Linked DNA regions of Homo sapiens: all the other regions are linked to region 1. The links are contacts of gene promoters, found by promoter capture Hi-C in human tissues and cell types (Jung and others, 2019). All regions are on one chromosome and are shown on one strand. Each heading gives the region's core, a stretch centred on a gene start or on the middle of the fragment in contact. The rest is flanking DNA. Distances are from core to core; before and after follow the strand shown. Region 1 holds the start of MATN2 (matrilin 2). Region 2 overlaps MATN2 (matrilin 2). Region 3 overlaps LAPTM4B (lysosomal protein transmembrane 4 beta).

The links. Contacts are between HindIII fragments. The study calls those that stand out against the background at their distance.
Region 2: a fragment that was not itself captured here is called in contact with the fragment with the promoter of MATN2 in region 1 in 2 of the 25 tissues and cell types used here (bladder and mesenchymal stem cells).
Region 3: a fragment that was not itself captured here is called in contact with the fragment with the promoter of MATN2 in region 1 in 2 of the 25 tissues and cell types used here (aorta and spleen).

What each region holds. Positions count from the first base shown.
Region 1 is chr8:97,867,722-97,871,000 of GRCh38, forward strand. MATN2 (matrilin 2) reads left to right here and starts at 1,343. Exons shown (of 19, transcript NM_002380.5): 1 at 1,343-1,566. RefSeq lists an enhancer at 444-943. The HindIII fragment of the contact is 19,586 bases long and covers 1-3,279 here.
Region 2 is chr8:97,912,405-97,915,578 of GRCh38, forward strand. All of the region lies in intron 2 of MATN2 (matrilin 2), which reads left to right. Among named protein-coding and RNA genes, the nearest start is that of MATN2, 45 kb to the left of the region's middle. The HindIII fragment of the contact is 4,576 bases long and covers 1-3,174 here.
Region 3 is chr8:97,816,834-97,819,879 of GRCh38, forward strand. It overlaps LAPTM4B (lysosomal protein transmembrane 4 beta), which reads left to right. Exons shown (of 7, transcript NM_018407.6): 5 at 2,307-2,405. Among named protein-coding and RNA genes, the nearest start is that of LAPTM4B, 43 kb to the left of the region's middle. The HindIII fragment of the contact is 7,378 bases long and covers 1-3,046 here.

The DNA of each region.
Region 1 (3,279 bases), core at 93-2,592:
TTCTGAAGAATTGATTTTGGCGTTTATTCATATTTCAGAAATCAACTCTATCATCAAATAGGAATGATGGTTAATTACAAAACAAAGTCCGCCCAAAGCACCAAATTATCAGACTGTGGCACATCCAGAGGTTTTGAAACTAGTTAGTGCTGCTGCCTCTGCTGGTAGCTTGTTAAAACCTGAACTGGGGCCGGGCGCAGTGGCTCACGCCTGTAATCCCAGCACTTTGGGAGGCCGAGGCGGGCGGATCACGAGGTCAGGAGATCGACACCATCCTGGCTAACACGGTGAAACCCCGTCTCTACTGAAAATACAAAAAAAATTAGCCGGCCGTGGTGGCGGGAGCCTGTAGTCCCAGCTACTCTGAGGCAGGAGAATGGCGTGAATCCGGGAGGCAGAGCTTGCAGTAAGCCAAGATTGCGCCACTGCACTCCAGCCTGGGCGACTCCGTCTCAAAAAACAAACAAACAAACAAAAACACAAAACCTGAACTGGGTGCGTTGGCTAGTGGTTTGGGAACAGAATTTTGGAGCTTTATAGGAGATGTCCTGGTCTGTTATACATCCACTCACCCCAGCCTCCAGGAACTGGGGAGCTGGTAGAGGGGGGTGCCGGCCACTTTGACTGTCGCTGGCCAATCCTGTCTTCTGCATCCCTCCAAGGCTCCATGGGGACATCCAAGGTGAGGTTCCTCCATTCTGCAAAGTTGCAAATGTCTCTGCTCATAATTTCAAAAGTCTTGTCTGAACTAGACTTTCCCTGCTCCCTCGGGGTAGGAATTTTGTCTCCTCTCCATCCTGGCATCTTTACCTCCTCCCCATCCCGGGGCCTGGTCCCCAGCCAGTGGACGCTCTGTTAATATGAACTGGCACTGGTGGGGTGCTCTGGGCACTGGCAAGACAGCTCTTGGCGCTTGTCATCAATTAGCCCAATTCTCACCACTTTTTTCTCCATCCCCGCGTCAGTGGGTGCGTCCCGCAGGTCATGACCCCAAGTTCTAGATGTAAGATTCCTGCCATGTCTCCTTTCCCCCAGAAGACCCCTCCCCGCACTCCCAACCCGACAGGCCCCTAAAGCTGCCTGTGTTCCGTGCCTGCGGCTCCGGACCCCTGGAGTCTGATGCCCGCCTGGGCTCAGGCACGGACGGAGTGGAGCCAGGTGGCAGCAGGCAGGGCGCGCCGCCAGAGTGCCCAGCTCCCGGGGCTGCCCACAGGGTGGGGCCGCCCTCGCCGCCGCTCCCTCTCCGCGCCTTCCCCATCCCCAAAGAGGACACCCCTCCTTCCGCCCGGCCCGCTCCCCACCCCCGCCGCGGCACCGCCTCCCCAGCCGCCCGCCCTTGCCCAGCGCCTCCCAGGCAGCCAGCGAGCGAAGGGAGCGCTCTGGGATGGGACTTGGAGCAAGCGGCGGCGGCGGAGACAGAGGCAGAGGCAGAAGCTGGGGCTCCGTCCTCGCCTCCCACGAGCGATCCCCGAGGAGAGCCGCGGCCCTCGGCGAGGCGAAGAGGCCGACGAGGAAGACCCGGGTGGCTGCGCCCCTGCCTCGCTTCCCAGGCGCCGGCGGCTGCAGGTGAGCGCGGCGCGCTTTCCCCCGGCTCTGCGCGGCCGGGCGGCCTCGAAGTGCAGGCGGACCGACCCACCGACAGAATACCGAGCCTGGGCTGCCCGACGCGCAGGCGCCCTCCCCAGGCCCGCACTGCAGCCCCCAGCGCCCCGGGGCCCCGGCGCCTTCGACCCCTCCGAGGACAGGGGGAGAGGGAGGGCGGCGCTGCCCGACCCCTCGGCCGGGAGAGCTGGGCGCGCTCCCTGCGCAGGACAAGCCGCGCTGCAGCCGCCCCGGAGTGCCCCGTGGGGGCGCTGTGGCACGCAGCGGGGACGCCCAGACCCCGGCCACCGCGACCCAGGGAAAGGGAGACCTGTTGAGCGGGTATGCAGGGTGATTCCTATTCCACGGACAGCCGATGGCTCCCCCTTCCCTCTTCGGAACCTGGTATTTTCATGCCCGTGTCATCTGGATTTTGTTCTTGGGTCTCTATGGCAGCTAAACCTCCAGCTTCCCTATATTGTGGAAGAGGGAGAGAAAGGGGAAGGCATTTTGTGGTAGTTGCTAGAAACCCCAGAACAATTTGGAGCCGTTTGGGGAGAGGACAGAGAAATGGGGACTGTCCCTGGTAGGGTCTCCAGGACTGGGGGCACAGGAAAGTGCTCTCCTCAGGGACACTCGCGCCCACCCTGAACAAACCCAATTGACCAAGTTTCAATTTGTCATAAATCAGGAAGCCACAATGCATCTGCACCAAGCACACTTAAAATCGGCCTTTAAGGAATGGGGCAGTCAAGAGACTTCAGGGACCCGTGGTCGAGAGCAGAGACTGGGGTCAGCCTGCTTGGGTTTCAACCCCAGCTGTGAAGTTTACAGGGTTGATAACTTGAAGGTACCCAAGTATGCCTCAGTTTCCTCATCTGTCTAATGAGGATGGTAATACCCACAGAACTGTGAGGATTAAATGAGATATGGCGGCCGGGCACGGTGGCTCAGGGCTGTCATCCCAGCACTTTGGGAAGCCGGGGCGGGCGGATCACCTGAGGTCGGGAGTTCGAGACCAGCCTGACCAACATGGAGAAACCCCGTCTCTACTAAAAATACAAAATTAGCCGGACTTGGTGGCGCATGCCTGTAATCCCAGCTACTCGGGAGGTTGAGGCAGGAGAATCGGTTGAACCCAGGAGGCAGAGATTGCAGTGAGCGGAGATGGTGCCATTGCACTCCAGCCTGGGCAACAAGAGCTAAACTCCGTCTCAAAAGAAAAAAAAAAAGATATGGCAAGTAAAGTCCTTAGAACATTTCCAGGAGCATTCTAAGATTAGGTGAGTTCCATGGCTTGTCTTTGCAGAAATAGCAAGGAGCTGCTATGAGCAGTGAATGTACCTCTTCCCCAGTTCAGAAAGAGAGGCTCTCCATGGGTACGTGAGGGTGGCAGATAAGCCACGTGTATGCAACTGGTAGTTCCATGCAGGAGTCCACACGGGCGCAGTTCTCCCTGCTTGCTCCCAAAGGGCCAACCTCATAAAACCATGTCAAAATACCAACATGGGTTTATGACCTGGAATGTTTCCTCTCAGTCCCTGAAACTTGGCACTTAGAATCCTCTGTGGAGAATGAGATACTTATGGCTCTTCACCTTGCATTTTCCTATCTGTCCACACTTTTTACTTTTATTTCTGCCAATAGAATTCAATCTCAGGCCCCCGAGTTACCAGGACACTGTCTTCTATAAATCGG
Region 2 (3,174 bases), core at 96-2,595, 45 kb after region 1:
CAGCTGGAGCCGGGCATTGAAGCGCTGAGAGCGCTGAGGAAACAAATCGTTGGCTCAATAGTTTTCCTTTTGTGTAATATACTGTCCCAGTGTGTTTAGGGAGTTACGACTTCTGCCAAGTAAGAATGGAGGAAATGAAGCATTGTATCAAAGTGTACAGAGTTTCCAAGCAAATTGGAGGATGAGTACAAGTCTGTGTCTAGGGGAGTCTCTGCAGAAGATGAGGGTGGGCCTGCAGAGACGTAGGGGTGGGGAGGAGGGGCAGCTCTGCTTTCCCCAACCTTGGGTGACTAGGCCTTCAGGTCAGCTTTGTGAAGAGGACTGAGCATGCCTGGTTGCCTTTTCTGTTCCACCCCGTTTGCCGACCTCAGTAGAGAGTGGGGGTGATACGTGAGTGAGGCATCAAAGAGGCCAAGATGCTGAGGATGACAGAGGCAGATATGCTGAGGCTGACGGAGCCACCAGGGCCAGTGCAGGAAACAGAGCTCTCTAGGTATTTCAGGAAGAAAAAGATTTAACACGGGGAATTCGGTTATATAGTTGTTGGAAGGGCTGGAGGAGTGGGAGCCCAGGGACCACCACGCAAGAGCACCTCACTGGGATCAGGATGGTGCTGCCACCAGAACTGACGTCTGTGCAGCTGCTGAGCAGACACCAGAACACGAAGTCTGGCTGCCGCAACTAACTGGCTTTCTAAAACCTTGCTTGCTGGCAGAGCCACCATCCACCCCACTTCATCCTTTGTGAATATATTGAATTGGGGTTCCCCAATTCTTACCCAGAACCCTAGCTGCCTGAAAGATAGTCTGGGAAATATTTGTTTTGTCCTTTTAGCTTCTGCAACGCTGGAAGACTCATGGGGAGAGTTGGGAGTTCATGCCAAGTGCCAATGGACATGGACAGCAATCGATTTTTTTTTTTTTTTTTTGAGATGGAGTCTTGCTTTGTTGCCTAGGTTGGAGTGCAGTGGCACGATCTTGGCTCACTGCAGCCTCTGCCTCCCGGGTTCAAGTGATTCTCTTGCCTCAGCCTCCCAAGTAGCTGGGATTACAGGTGCACACCACCACACCCAGCTAAATTTTGTATTTTTAGTAGAGACGGGGTTTCGCCATGTTGGCCAGGCTGGTCTTGAACTCCTGACCTCAGGTGATCTGCCTTCCTCGGCCTCTCAGAGTGCTAGGATTACAGGTATATGCCACTGCACCCTGCCATTTTTTTTTTTTTTTTTGAGATGGAGTCTCACTGTGTCGCCCAGGCTGGATTGCAGTGGTACAATCTCGGCTCACTGCAACCTCTGCCTCCCGGGTTCAAGCAATTCTCCTGCCTTAGTCTACCAAGTAGCTGGGACTACAGGCACGTGCCACCACGCCCAGCTAATGTTTGTATTCTTAGTACAGATGGGGTTTTGCCATGTTGGCCAGGCTGGCCTCGAACTCCTGACCTCAGCCGATCCGCCCGCCTTGGCCTTCTAAAGTGCTGGGATTACAGGCATGGGCCACCTTGCTCAGCCTGATATTTATTTCATTTGAAATTTGGATTAAATAGGTAGAGGAGTTGAACACCAAATAGAGATGAGTTGAAAGGGCCCATCGTTGACCTAAACTATTTGCTCCACCATCTGAAAGTCCTTTGGGATTAAGTCCAGGGTTAGATAACAGAGGGGCAGAAACTCAACTCCCAGAGACAAAGGAGTGGCCTTAACATTCTCTCTGGTGCCTTCTCTATTAGTATATACATAAGGAAACATTAATTTACACCCAAGAGTAGGCTGGGAGCTTGGATGGGAGGGGAAGCAGGGTTGGGGGTCAGGCCTGGAGAGATTGGCTTTGGGCTGGGCCATAGATGGAGAAGACTGAAGTCTGGGCTGTCAGGAACCCTTAGAATAAGCCTAAAATAGGAAGGGCACATCTAAAACCCTTCAGTGCTCCTCGTTTGTCCTAATAAAATCCAGACCTTTTTTTTTTTTTTTTTTTTTTTTTTTTTTGGAACAGGGTCTTGCTCTGTGGCCCAAGCTGGAGAGCAGTGGCACAATAATGGCTTACTGCATCCTCACCCTCCAGGGCTCAAGCCATCCTCCTGCTTCAGCCTCCCATGTAGCGAGGACTACAGGCCTGCACCATTACACCCGGCTACTTTTTTTTTTTTAATCTATTGTAGAGAGGGGGTCTCAAACTCCTGAGCTCAAGTGATCCTCTTGCCTCAGCCTCCCAAAGTGCTGAGATTACATGTGTGAGCCACTGTGCCCTGCCTGAAGTCCAGACTTCTTATGCAGGAGGCACATGCCGTCCACCCACATGGCCCTGTCTTCCCCAACTTGTCCTTTAGGACCCAGCCTTGCCACATCACCTGTGGTTACCTGGGTGCGTGTGCATCCCACTCTGTTCTGGCCTCCAGCTTTTGCATACGCTGCCCTTTTACCTAAATGCACACCCCAGCTTGTTGCCTGGTCAACACCTGCTCACCTTATAATAACATCATCCTATTATAATACTCATCACCTTGTCCAGGGATCTTCCCCCACCCCCTATCTTGGGACTGGTGATCTACTCCAGGCTCTAGTCACTCGTCCTTTTTTGTTGTTGCTTTGTTTTTTGTTTTTAGAGACAGAGTCTCTCTCTGTTGCCCAGGATAAAGTGCAGTGGTGTAATCATAGCTCACGGCAACCTTGACCTCTTGGGCTCAAGCGATCCTCCCGCCTCAGCCTCCCAAGTAACTGGGACTACAGGCGCACGCCATCATGCTTGGCTTGTGAAAAAACTTTTTTTTTTGTAGTGATGTGGTATCACCATGTTGCCCAGGCTGGTCTCTAACTGCTGGGCTCAGGCAGTCCTCCTGCCTTAGCCACCCAAAGTGCTGGGACTATAGGTGTGAGCCATCGTGCCTGGCCTGCTCATATTTTTTATGAATCTTAATGAATCTGTCTTCTCTACAGGGTTGTAAGCTCCTCCCAGGCTGAGACTGGTTCTCATACTCTATCCCTAGCACCCAGCACAAAGAGGGGATTCCTGCAATGTTTGTACAACTCAACCAAACCAAAATGATGATAGAATTGTCTCCGAAGACAAACTTTGCCTTTGCTGGCACAGGGCTGTGGAACCTTGTGCCCTGTTATCTAACTGGCCCCTTCCTCCTTGTGTACCTACACCTCCTCCCCTCCTCCTTCCAGGGAAAGGC
Region 3 (3,046 bases), core at 464-2,963, 51 kb before region 1:
GGAGGCTGAGGCAGGAGAATTGCTTGAACCTGGGAGGTGGAGGCTGCAGTGAGCCAAGATCACGCCACTGCACTCCAGCCTGGGCAATAGAGTGAGATCTCATCTAAAAAAAAAGAAAAATCAAAAGAAAGTGGAAAGAAAGTGGAACACTGCTGTATACTAGCTCCCAAATTTGTTTGACCATAGAATCCCTTTCTCAAGCATCATTTTGGGACTAGTTTACGGTTAAATGTCCTTTGTGACCATATGAGTGAATATTGGTGGCAGGGTATTAAGAAGCTTATAATGGCTATGAGGTTGGAATAACTTTATTTATTTTTGGGACAGGGTCTCTGTCACCCAGGCTGGAGTGCAGTGGTGTGATTATGGCTTGCTGCAGCGTTGACCTCCCAGGCTCCCGTGATCCTCCCATCTCAACCTCTTGAGTAGCTGGCACTATAGGCATGCACCACCATGCCCACCTAATTTTTCTTTTTGTATCTTATGTAGAGATGGGGTTTCACCATGTTGCCCAGGCTTGTCTCAAACTCCTAGACTCAAGTGATCCTCCAGCCTTGGCCTCCCAAAGTGCTGGCATTATAGATGTGACTCACTGTACCAGGCCAACTTTACTTTTTTTTTTTTTTTTTTTTGAGACAGAGTCTCACTCTATCACCTAGGCTGGAGTGCAGTGTTGTGATCTCGGCTCACTGCAACCTCCGCCTCCCTGGGTTCAAGCCATTCTCCTGCCTCAGTCTCCTGAGTAGCTGGGATTACAGGCACCCGCTACCAAGCCTGGCTAATTTTTTGTATTTTTAGTAGAGATGGGGTTTCACCATCTTTTCCAGGCTGGTCTCAAACATTTAGCCTCAGAGGATCCACCCTCATCGGCCTCCCAGAGTGCTAGGAATACAGGCGCCCACTACCATGCCTGGCTAATTTTTGTATTTTTTTTTTAGTAGAGGTGGGGTTTTGCCATGTTGACCAGGCTGGTCTCGAACTCCTGACCTCAGGTGATCCGCCCACCTTGGCCTCCCAAAGTGCTGAGATTACAGGCGTGAGCCACCATGCCCAGCCTGCAACCTCAATCTTCTGGGCTCAAGTGATCCTTCCACCTTAGCCTCCCAAGTAGTTTGGACTACAGACATGCACCACCATGCCCGGCTAAATTTGTATTTTTAGTAGAGATGGGGTTTGACTATGTTGTCCAGGCTGGTCTCAAACACCTGCACTCAAGCAATCTGCCTGCCTCAGCCTCCCAAAGTGCTGAAATTACAGGCATGAGCCACTGTGCTTGGCCAAGTTATTTTATTAATAAAAGAGTAAAGTTGCATGATCTGATCACAAAGAATGACGATTTTATTTCTTAGATATTTTGTCCCAAGTGAAAGGAGACTGAAAACCATTAGGTGGTGTTCACCCTGGTGAGCAGGAGCCAAGCCCATGAGTCATGGGCCTTCTCCATGTTCTTCCTCAACATTGGAAACAACTTTGTTTTGGAATATTGCTCGTGAGGAATCCAAACACATAGTGTTGAATGGTGAAGGGAGATAAAAGATGAGATAGCACAGTAGGCTGCCTTCCCATTCACTTGCCTAGGCCAGTGATGTAGGCGTTGATCAATGCTGTGTGAGTGTTCTGTGGGGAAAGTCCGGCAACTCCCTCTAACCATAGTAGCAGACTTTGATCCTCCTGAAAAGGTTCCCTTTGACCTGGTTGTTAAGCATTGTGGATGGTAGTGCTTGATTATTTCCCCCCACCCTGGAAGTACTTGCTAGTATAAGAGAATATGCTGTCTTGGGAGAAGTACCATCAACAAAAATGCTCTTTGCAAAGAAGACCTCATTTTAGTAGGTTTCTGTCCCTTGCCCTGCATATGCCCTTTAGAATGGTTCAGAACTTTTGAGACATGGTCTGGCTCTGTCGCCCGGGCGGCTGGAGTGCAGTGGCATGATCTCGCTCACTGCAACCTCCACCACCAGGGCTCAAGTGATTTGCTCACCCCAGCCTCCCAAGTAGCTGAGCTGGGCGACAGAGAGAAACTCCATCTCAAAAAAGAAAAAAAAAAAAAAAAGGAATGGTTCAGAACTTGCAGAGAATACAAATTTCAGAGATCCCTGGATATACAAAATGTCCCTGGATACCGATCACTGACGTCTTTTATATGGTAAGAGGGCAGAGTCAGGCTAGAAATTTTGTATTGGTTCTAAATAATAGCTGTCTGCTTTAATCAGTTGCTTTCTGATAAGCATGTCTGAATTGGTGCCCAAGGAATACTGTCTGGAATGATTAATGAGATTTGCTAATGAGGCCCTTTTCTTTTGCAGCCTCCTAATTTTCCCTACAGAGATGATGTCATGTCAGTGAATCCTACCTGTTTGGTCCTTATTATTCTTCTGTTTATTAGCATTATCTTGACTTTTAAGGTAAGCATGAAGATTTTACTTATAGTCTAAAAATATTAAGTGTATTCCTGAATACCAAATAAGTAAACAAACTTTGGTCAGTTTATTGTCTTTCTTTGGACATCCAAATTGCTTTTTGATTTCCTAAGATTACAATTCTTTATGCTGTCTATGTTGGAGGTAAACACTAATCAAAATTCCACAGTTTGATCAAGGAGTCCAAAATATATTTGGACAGAGATAAGTTAACATAATGTTATACATTACATAGTATATGATATTGCAACGTCTGTTACAAGGTCTGTGTAATGGATATTCTTTTGTAATTTTTTGCTAAAAGTGTAATATTTTCTGAATATTGTTCTATCTCAATCCATTATATGAATATCATTATTTAATAAATTACTTGATGAGCATTGAGACATTTTTTACTTTTTCACTTAATAGGGCTGTAGTGAATATATTTAAGTACATCCTTATATTTATGCATTTATCTCAAGATAAATTTCCTTTTTTTTTTTTTTTTTTTTTTTTTGAGATGGAGTCTCGCTCTGTCGCCCAGGTTGGAGTGCAGTGGCGCAACCTCGGCTTACTGCGAGCTTCGCCTCCCGGCTTCACGCCATTATCTTGCCTCAGCCTCCCCAGTAGGTGGGACCACAGAT